3 separate regions of the Homo sapiens genome follow, and regions 2 and 3 are each linked to region 1. The links are contacts of gene promoters, found by promoter capture Hi-C in blood cells and fetal thymus (Javierre and others, 2016). All regions are on one chromosome and are shown on one strand. The core of a region is centred on a gene start or on the middle of the fragment in contact, and the rest is flanking DNA. Distances in the headings are between cores, read along the strand shown. Region 1 has its middle 9.2 kb from the start of RNH1. Region 2 holds the start of SCGB1C1 (secretoglobin family 1C member 1). Region 3 holds the start of GATD1 (glutamine amidotransferase class 1 domain containing 1).

What was found. The method cuts DNA at HindIII sites, captures the fragments that hold promoters and counts their contacts. A CHiCAGO score of 5 or more calls a contact.
Region 2: a contact is called between the fragment with the promoter of SCGB1C1 here and a fragment that was not itself captured in region 1, in 9 of 17 cell types (naive CD8 T cells, total B cells, total CD4 T cells and 6 more). The highest score is 8.6, in naive CD8 T cells.
Region 3: a contact is called between the fragment with the promoter of GATD1 here and a fragment that was not itself captured in region 1, in 2 of 17 cell types (activated CD4 T cells and non-activated CD4 T cells). The highest score is 5.3, in activated CD4 T cells.

Annotation. Positions count from the first base shown.
Region 1 is chr11:514,890-518,074 of GRCh38, reverse strand. It overlaps a transcript of LRRC56 not described here. Among named protein-coding and RNA genes, the nearest start is that of RNH1, 9.2 kb to the right of the region's middle. The HindIII fragment of the contact is 932 bases long and covers 1,247-2,178 here.
Region 2 is chr11:191,592-194,776 of GRCh38, reverse strand. SCGB1C1 (secretoglobin family 1C member 1) reads right to left here and starts at 1,699. Exons shown (of 3, transcript NM_145651.3): 1 at 1,623-1,699; 2 at 866-1,065; 3 at 202-359. The coding sequence starts at 1,677. The coding sequence ends at 327. The HindIII fragment of the contact is 15,974 bases long and covers 1-3,185 here.
Region 3 is chr11:775,932-779,116 of GRCh38, reverse strand. It overlaps GATD1 (glutamine amidotransferase class 1 domain containing 1), which reads left to right and starts at 1,630. Exons shown (of 8, transcript NM_182612.4): 1 at 1,630-1,718. The coding sequence starts at 1,655. It overlaps LOC124900301, which reads right to left and starts at 1,539. Exons shown (of 2, transcript XM_047427954.1): 1 at 1,422-1,539; 2 at 1-1,000. GATD1-DT (GATD1 divergent transcript) reads right to left here and starts at 1,539. Exons shown (of 2, transcript NR_126343.1): 1 at 1,422-1,539. RefSeq lists silencers at 1,130-1,229, 1,280-1,989, 2,000-2,209. The HindIII fragment of the contact is 13,028 bases long and covers 1-3,185 here.

The DNA of each region.
Region 1 (3,185 bases), core at 463-2,962:
ACAAAGGTCTCTGGTTTTCCTAGGCAGAGGTCCCTGCGGCCTTCCGCAGTGTTTGTGTCCCTGGGTAGTTGAGATTAGGGAATGGTGATGACTCTTAACGAGCATGCTGCCTCCAAGCATCTGTTTAACAAAGCACATCTGGCACCGCCCTTAATCCATTTAACCCTGAGTTGACACAGCACGTTTCAGAGAGCACGGGGTTGGGGGTAAGGTTATAGATTAACAGCATCCCAAGACAGAAGAATTTTTCTTAGTACAGAACAAAACGGAGTCTCCTATGTCTACTTCTTTCTACACAGACACAGTAACAATCTGACCTCTCTTTCTTTTCCCCACATTTCCCCCTTTTCTTTTTGACAAAACTGCCACTGTCATCATGGCCCGTTCTCGATGGTCGCTGTCTCTTTGGAGCTGTTGGGTACACTTCCCAGACGGGGCGGCCTGGCAGAGGCACTCCTCACCTCCCAGACGGGGTGGCCGGGCAGAGGTGCTCCTCACCCCCCAGATGGGACGGCCGGGCAGAGGCGCCCACTTCCCAGACGGGGCAGTCGGGCAGAGGCGCTCCCCACCTTCCAGATAAGGCGGTGGCTGGGCAGAGGTGCCCCTCACTTCCCAGGTGGGGCGGTCGGGCAGAGGCACCCCTCAACTCCCAGACGGGGCAGCCAGGCAGAGGCGCCCCCCACCTCCCAGACGGGGCAGCTGGGCAGAGGCGCCCACTTCCCAGACCGGGCGGCCGGGCAGAGGCGCTCCTCACCTCCCAGACGATGGGCGGCCGGGCAGAGATGCTCCTCACCTCCCAGACGGGGTGGCGGCCGGGCAGAGGCTGTAATCTTAGCACTTTGGGAGGCCAAGGCAGGCAGCTGGAAGGTAGAGGTTGTGGCGAGCTGAGATCACGCCACTGCGCTCCAGCCTTGGCAACACTGAGCATTGAGTGAGCAAGACTCCGTCTGCAATCCCAGCACCCCGGGAGGCCGAGGCGGGCAGACCATTGGAGGTCAGGAGCCGGAGACCAGCCCGGTCAACAGGGCAAAACCCCGTCTCCTCCAAAAATACAAAAACCAGTCAGGCGTGGCGGTGCATGCCTGCAATCCCAGGCACTTGGCAGGCCGAGGCAGGAGAACCATGGGAGCCCGGGGCAGGGAGGCTGCAGCAAGCCGAGACCACAGCAGTACAGTCCAGCCTCGGCAACAGAGGGAGACCGAAGGGAGAGGGAGAGGGAGAGGGAGAAAAAAATAATTAAAAAGCTTTATAAGCCTGCTGGATTCTGTCAAATGCCTTTTCTAAGTCTACTGAAATGATGATGTATTTTTGTCTTATTTTATTTATTTAGAGACCAGGTCTCACTATGTTGCTCAGAATCCTCCTGCTTCAGCCTCCCAAAGTGCTGGGATCACAGATGTGAGCCACCACGTCCGGCCGTCTTTTTGTCTTTTAATCTGCTTATATGGTGAATTCCATTGGCTCATATTTCATGTTGAACCAGCCTTGCATTCCTGTGATAAATTTCACTGCGTCATGGTGTGCACTTATATTTGTATTATACATATATGTGTGCTCATGGGCCTGTGTTTCAGTGTGTGGCAATGCTGTGGGCCTACAATCATCAAAACAGCTCTGGAAAACAATGGTCAAGTGAGAGGGCATTCTATGCCTGGCTTCAAGATTTGGGTTTTTTTTTTTTTGAGATGGAGGCTCGCTCTGTCACTCAGGCTGGAGTGCAGTGGTACGATCTCAGCTCACTGCAGCCTCCGCCTCTGGGGCTCAAGTGATTCTTGTACCTCAGCCTCCCGAGTAGCTGGGATTACAGGCGTGTACCACCATGCCTGGCTAGTTTTTGTATTTTTGGTAGAGACGGGTTTCGCCATGTTGGCCAGGCTGGTCTTGAACTCCTGGCCTCAAGTGATCCACCCACCTCGGCCTCCCAAAGTGCTAGGATTACAGGCGTGAACCTTTGCACCTGGCCCAAGATGTGTTATAAAGGTTCAGAAATCCAGACAGTGTGGCATTGGTAACAGGATAGACAAATAGATCAGTGGAACAGAATAGAGGATCGAGAGTAGACCCTCACATACATGCTCAACTGATTTTGAAATAAGTGTAAGCAAATTCAGCAGAGAAAGGAGAATCTTAGCAACAAATGGTACTAGAATGACGGGGCTACACATATGAATGGAAGCTTCAATCTATACATGACAGTACATATATAAATCCATTCAAAATTTACTATTAATTTTTTTGAGATGGAGTCTCACTCTCTCGCCCAGGTTGGAGGGCAGTGGCACAATCTTGACTCACTGCAACCTCTGTCTCCCAGGTTCAAGTGATTCTCCTGCCTCAGCCTCTGGAGTAGCTGGGATTACAGGTGCCCGCCACCACACCTGGCTACTTTTTGTATTTTTAGTAGAGACGGGGTTTCACCATGTTGGCCAGGCTTGTGTCAAACTCCTGACCTCTGGTGATCCACCCGCCTTGGCCTCTCAAAGTGCCAGGATTACAGGTGTGAGCACTGTGCCTGGCCTCAGAACTTATTATAAGCCAAAATGTAAGGCCTACAACTGTAAAATGTGCGTTAAGAATGAAAAGGAGGATGTCAGTGTGACTTGGGTTAGAGAAATGATTCTTAAACACTAAAAGCATGACACATAAAGGAAAACCTGATCCACTGGACATCATGAGAATGAAGGGTGTGTGCATTTTGAAAGGCCCTGAGAAGACAAGCCCAGGCTGGCAGAGGCATTAGCAAATATCCCGTCTGAGGAAGGACTCATCTGCAGCATCTATGACAAGCTCCCAGGAGTCATGGGGTGCTGTGCTCTCGGCAGATATGGGAGAGCCTCCCATCCCATCATTCGTGTCTCCGGAGCAGCACTGCTCAAAGTCCCCTACCAATGCCCTCCTCAGCCGACAGACCTGACCCTCCCCACATGTGCACCCACAGGCCAGGCCTTGTGGGTCTTCTTGGGACATGACCCCAACTTCAGGAGGAGGAAAGTAAGAAGAGGAAAATCAATGAAAAGAAAAAAGAATTTACTGGTGGCCCTTTCAAGTCTTTCTGTCAAACGGCCCAATTTCAGGTTCAGCCAGGCAGTGGTGACAAGGCAGCCCTGTGTTCTGCCCAGTTCCAAGGGCTCCACCGCCTCTGTGGGTGAGAAGCAGCAACCAGCCGGGGAGAAAACCATCTAGCT
Region 2 (3,185 bases), core at 450-2,949, 320 kb after region 1:
GTATGTGGGTCTGTGTGTGTGGCTGTGGCCCTGTGTTCCTGATGTCCCCATTTGTGTGTCCCTCTGTGGGGACTTTCGCACGTGTGCTCCTTGAGTGGGATCCTCTGTATGTGGGTCTGTGTGTGTGGCTGTGGCCCCGAGTGTGTTCCTGATGTCCCCATTTGTGTGCCCCTCTGTGGGGGCAGAGACAGGAGCCTGAGCTGCGGAAGAGGCTTTATTGATTAAACGGTTTGAGGATACATTTCCATGTGGGAGGTGGTAGTGGGCGTTGTGTCCACGGCTGCTTGTGTGGCAGGTCCTATGGCTGAGCCATGTCTGAGGTCCACTTAGGCACCGTCCTGACTGCCCAGCACTTGCACCTGGAAGGCAGACACATGTGGACTAAGAGGGCTGTGCTCAATAAGTGGAGAGCCACAGCTCCATCAGGCAAGCAAGGCCCTCAGTGGGGGGGGGTCTGGCATATTGCTGCCTATCTCCTCCCAGCAGCTGGGAGGTGTGTGTGCACATGTGATGGTGTGCACACATGTATGTGTGTGCATATCCCAGTGTGAGCATGTGGGTGTGAACGTGTTTATACATGTGTGCACGCAGTGTACATTTCATGTCTGCACCTGTGTTTGGATCTCTGTGTATGTTCACATGTGTGCATGGAGGAGTATCCCACAGACTGGGGAGGAGGTCTATGGAGTCTGGGGGCTGCTCGGTGGACAGGAGGTCTGGGGTGTCCACCTGAGCTGGCTGATGCGGGTGCAATGTCTGTGGGTGGTGGATGTCTGTGGGTGGGGTAGGCTGTGTGGGTGCTGTGTTGGGTGGTCTTGGTAAGGCTGCAGATCTTTAGAAAATGGGGTGCCCGCCGCCCTCATACCAGCAGCTTGACCAGCTCCGCCTTGTGCATTGGCTGCAGGCCATCTATACAGGACTTGAGTTCAGTCATTGCTGCCTTGGCATCTTCGTTGACATTGTACTTGCCCAAGGTCCCCTCATAGAGCTCCTCTGGGGTCCCCACCAGTAGTGTTTGCAGGAAGTCCATGAAAAACTCATCGTTGTCCTCCCCTGTGGCCATCCCTGCATCACGAGCGAGATGATGCCAGGACAGGACAGGGTGACTCTGGTGCAACCACAGCCCTGGACCTGCCCCAGGGCTCCAACCTCCATGGTCTCCAGACCTTCCCCTTCAATGCCCACCTCTCCTCCCCAGGGCTTCCTCCACAACACCTCCAACTCCACCTTGCCCGAAGACCCCTCCACATCCCCCTTAATCTTAGCTGCTCCAATTTCCACTCAGCATTCCCTGGGATCACCAGGGAAGGAAAGTTAAGCTCCTGGTGTGGGGGAAATTTCCCCTGATGAGAGGCTATTATGACCAGAGGCTTGAAGGGTCAGGTCAGGCTGGACTGGGCTGGGGTAGGAGACACTGGGCTGGTGTTGGGTCAGCTGGGCTTTGTCCTTGGTTGGGGTGGAGTAGGGTGGGCGCGGGTTCTGCAGGGTCCTTGCCCACTTCTGTGACAGAAGCAGGTGGAGTGTTCACTGCAGAGGCCCGATGCCAGGATTTTACCTTCTCAGGTACCCCCCACTCCCCCCCACCCCTGAATGTTCTGGAAACCCCAGTGGCACAGACTCACGGCAGATGCAGAACAGGGTGAGGGCCACCAGCAGGAGGGCACGGCTCCCCTTCATGCCAGCAGTCTCAGGAGCTGCCTCCAGCCAGAATCCCGGGATTTTATGCCTCACCGGACAGCACCTCTCCTAGAGGGCGGACCGGACCTGCCCATTAGGACCCGGCAGCCAGCTTAGATGAGGTTTGTTCACATCCCTGGCCCCCAGTGGGTGCCAAGCAGCAACAGGCATGGAGTGGCTGTGTGACAGGTGGTTGGCAAGCGGCTTTAGGGTGTGTGAGAGAGAGAACAGGTGTGTTAGGAGGGAACACTGGTGAGAGGCCATGCCAACTGATCGGTGAAGAAGGCAGTGGGTCCTGGCCACCAAGGGCCTCTAGTCATGCCTGCCCTTGAGGCCGAGAGTGGTGGGATCTGGGGTTGGTCCCACGCCTTTCTTTTAAGGTGCGAATCCCTCCTCTTATCAGTGTGCTGTGTGATCTGGGTCTGCATCTGGGGGTCTCCAATCAGGCAGGGGCCCCTTACTACTCAGATGGGGTGGCCGAGTAGGGGAAGGGGGTGCAGGCTGCACGAGTGGACACAGCTGTAGGACTACCTGGGGGCTGTGGATCTATGGGGTGGGGAGAAGCCCAGTGACAGTGCCTAGAAGAGAGAAGGTGGCCTGAGAGGGTCTGAGGAACATAGAGCTGGCCATGTTGGGGCCAGGTCTCAGCAGGAAGTGAGGAATGGGACAGGCTTGAGGTACATCTTCCATCAGTAGCCAGGATAGCAAGGAGGGCTTGGGGTTGCTATCCTGGGGTTCAACCCCCCAGGTTGAAGGCCCTGGGGGAGATGGTCCCAGGACATATTACAATGGACACAGGAGGTTGGGACACCTGGAGTCACCAAACAAAACCATGCCAAGAGAGACCATGAGTAGGGGTGTCCCAGTCCAGCCCTCTGACTGAGCTGCATTGTTCAAATCCAAAGGGCCCCTGCTGCCACCTAGTGGCTGATGGCATCCACATGGCCCTGGGCCACACGCGTTTAGGGTCTCTGTGAAGACCAAGATCCTTGTTACATTGAACGACTCCTAAATGAGCAGAGATTTCCACCTATTCGAAACAATCACATAAAATCCCATCCTGGAAAAAGCCTGGGGGATGGCACTAAGGCTAGGGATAGGGTGGGATGAAGATTATAGTTACAGTAAGGGGTTTAGGGTTAGGGATCAACGTTGGTTAGGAGTCAGGGATACAGTAGGGTCACCGGTAAGGGTTAGGGGTTAGGGGTAGGGGTTAGGGTTAGGGTTAGGGTTAGGGGTTAGGGGTTAGGGTTAGGGTTAGGGTTAGGGTTAGGGGTTAGGGGTTAGGGTTAGGGTTAGGTTTTGGGGTGGCGTATTTTGGTCTTATACGCTGTGTTCCACTGGCAATGAAAAGAGTTCTTGTTTTTCCTTCAGCAATTTGTCATTTTTAAAAGAGTTTAGCAATTCTAACAGATATAGACCAGCTGTGCTATCTCATTGTGGTTTTCAATTGTAACCACATTGTGGTTTCAATGTGTTTACTTGCCATCTGTAGATCTTCTTTGGTG
Region 3 (3,185 bases), core at 381-2,880, 260 kb before region 1:
ACACTCACTCAGCTCCGTCCTCTGCTCCCTAACCCAACTCTCGGCCTTGCCTGTACCAGGAGCTCCCAGCTCCCACTTCCCCTGTGGTGGGAGGGCTCTGTGTCAGGTGAGGCAGGGTGCACTGCTTGTCTGACGGGGGTCAGGGACCCTTCTCCAGGCTGGGCCAGGGGGAGCCAGAGGCCAGTGGCTTTTTTTTTTTTTTGAGAAGGAGTCTCAATCTGTCGCCCAGGCTGGAGTGCAGTGGCGCAATCTTGGTTCATTGCAACCTCTGCCCCCGCTGGGTTCACGTGATTCTCCCGCCTCAGCCTCCCAAGTAGCTTGGATGACAGGTGCTGCCACTGCTAATTTTTGTATTTTTCTTAGTAGAGACGGGGTTTCACCATCTTGGCCAGGCTGGTCTTGAACTCCTGACCTCGTGATCCACCCGCCTGGGCCTCCCAAAGTGTTGGGATAACAAGCGTGAGCCACCGCGCCCGGCGGAGGCCAGTGGTTTTCAGGGGGTGTGACCCACAGAATTCCTCACCTTGGCTGTTCCCAACCATGACGGTTCCCCTGGTTGGAGCAGAGGCTTGGTGGGACCTTCATACTGGCAGCAGGGGGCCAGGGACCTGGGCGGCCCGCTCGCCTGCTGGCTCTGTCTCAAGCGCCCTTTTGGCCTCAAAGGGTGCCTGCCTGTCTGCCAACCACTCCACGTGGTCTCACCCCCTCCAACTACAGTCTAAGGAAAAACTGCTTCAGGCCAGGCGCGGTGGCTCACGCCTGTAGTCCTCGCACTTTGGGAGGCCAAGGCAGGCAGATCGCTTTAGATCAGGAGTTCGAGACCAGCTTGGACAACACAGTGAGACCCCCTCTCTACCCAAAACACAAAAAAATTAGCTGGGCGTGGTGGAGTGTGCACCTGGGGTCCCGGTTGCTCAACAGGCTGAGGTGGGAGGATCGCTTGAACACGGTAGGCAGACGCTGTAGTGAGCCGAGATCACGCCACTGCACTCCAGAGGCCCTGTCTCAAAAAAAAAAAAAAAAAAAGAAAAACTGCTTCAATTCTCCTCACCAAAGCCAGCACGCCCGAGGTGTCCCCATCTCAGGAAGTGACACTCCGTCCTCCCAGGAGCTCAGCCCGACGCCCCACAACCCTGCAGGCCTCCCCGCGACGCCCCCGTCCTGGGCCGGCGGAGCCCACCCCGCCTCCTGGACCCCGCCGTCCCCCTCCTAGTCTCCGGGGACACCCGGAGCTTCTGACCCCGCAGCCCCCCGGTCTCCCCTGCTCCTCGGGTGTGGCCACCGGAACACCACGGGCACCTTCGCGCCCCGACACCGCCGCCTGGCTCTGCTGATGCCCGCGCCCCCACCCCAGGCCAAGAGCCCTACCCCGCGCGCGCTCAGACTGCGCATGCGGCCGGGGAGGACCCTCGCGACCCTACCTATTGGCCCCTGCCAGGCTCGGATGCCGAACCCGCCGGGGCCAAAGCAGGCGCGACCTGCGACCGCCCGGGCGCGCGGAGCGGCGGGCAGCCCAGCCGACCCGGACCGGGTACGAACGCGCAGGCGCCCAGTCCCACCCGGCTCCGCCCCCGGCCGCCAGGGCACGTGACCCGCGAACTCCCGGGCGCGCCCAGACGCCGCGCACGCGCAGACCCAGCGCCGAGCCCGAGCCATGGCGTCCGAGCGGCTCCCTAACAGGCCCGCCTGTCTGCTCGTGGCCAGCGGCGCCGCCGAAGGTGAGGCCCGGCGGCCGGGGCCAGTGTCCGAAGAGCGTCCGCGAGGGGGCTGCCCGGGGCGGGAGGTTCGGGACACGGTGGGCGCGCGTCACGTGGCGCCGGAGGCCGAGGCCGCTGGGGGCGCCGGGCAGGGGCCGGGGGAGGGCGGAGCGGGGTCGGTGTCGGGATGGAGCTCGGGGCGGGGACGGGGGCGGGGGTGGGGTCGCGGGTTGGTGGGATGGAGCTCGGGGCGGGGTCGGGGGGTCGTGATGGATCCCGGCGCCGCGTCGCTCCTCCGAGTCTCGTCTGCCCGGCGAGGCGGCCCGGGCCCGACGTTTCTAGCGGAGGGAGCCGCGTGCCTGGGCCTGGTCTCTGAGGCCGCTGCGCTGCGAGAGGGGAGCCCGGGTGTGGGGAGGGGCCATTCCGGGAGTTGACCCAGCTCTGAGGTCGGGCGGCCGCGGGGACCCTGACCTTCTGAGCCACCGGCTTCTGAGGAGACCCGGAGCCCCCTCCTGGAGAAGGCGCCCCGCGGCCCCCGTCCTGGGGCAAGGGTACCAGGGCAGTACTGGCCTGGGGCTCACGCGGGTCGGAGCGCAGCGGGGTGCGTCCCCTGGCGCTGAGCCTGCAGGGTCTCAGGGCAGCAGGGGAGGGATGAGCAGCGGAGCACGAGGGTGCCTGGCCTTGTTCTGAGCCTTTTGGAGAGGGAAGTGAGCAGCCCAAGGTCACCGCACCACGGAGAGGTGGGGGCCGGGGTTGCGACCCAGGGGTCTGCCTCTTGAAGTCTGTAGCTCCTCAAGTGTGGACGGGGAGATGGGGCTGTGGGGTTGTGGCGTCACGATGTGCTGAGCTCCAGGGGTCCTGAGTGATGCCCCCAGACTGCGGGTGGGAGGAGCCTCGAGTGGGGTTCAGTCCTGGGGGGGTGGGTTGGGGCTTGTTTCCAGAGCAGGTAGGCGTGAGGAGGTCCGGCATGTTGAGGACGTGGGGTCTTAGCGCCAGCAGGCTGGGGGCAGCACTTCAGGAGGCCGGAAGGGCGGGCAGCTGGGGGAACAGAGCCTGCGGCAGTCTACTGGGCACTTTGTTTTTCCTCGATAAGTGGACATTTTACAGTGAATATGTATTAACTTATATAAGAATGAAGAGTCTGGGCGCAGTGGCTCACGCCTGTAATCCCAGCACTTTGGGAGGCTGAGGCGGGCGGATCACGAGGTCAAGAGATCGAGACCATTCTGGCTAAAACAGTGAAACTCCGTCTCTACTAAAAGTACAAAAATTAGCTGGGCGTGGTGGCACCCTCCTGTAGTCCCAGCTACTCGGGAGGCTGAGGCAGGAGAATTGCTTGAGCCTGGAAGGTGGAGGTTGCAGTGAGCCGAGATCGCACCACTGCACTCCAGCCTGGCGACAGACCGAGACTCCGTCTCAAAAAAAAAAAAAAAAAAAAAAAAAGAATGAAGATAAAAATGAAGCTGAGGGATTGGGCCCCAGAGTTAA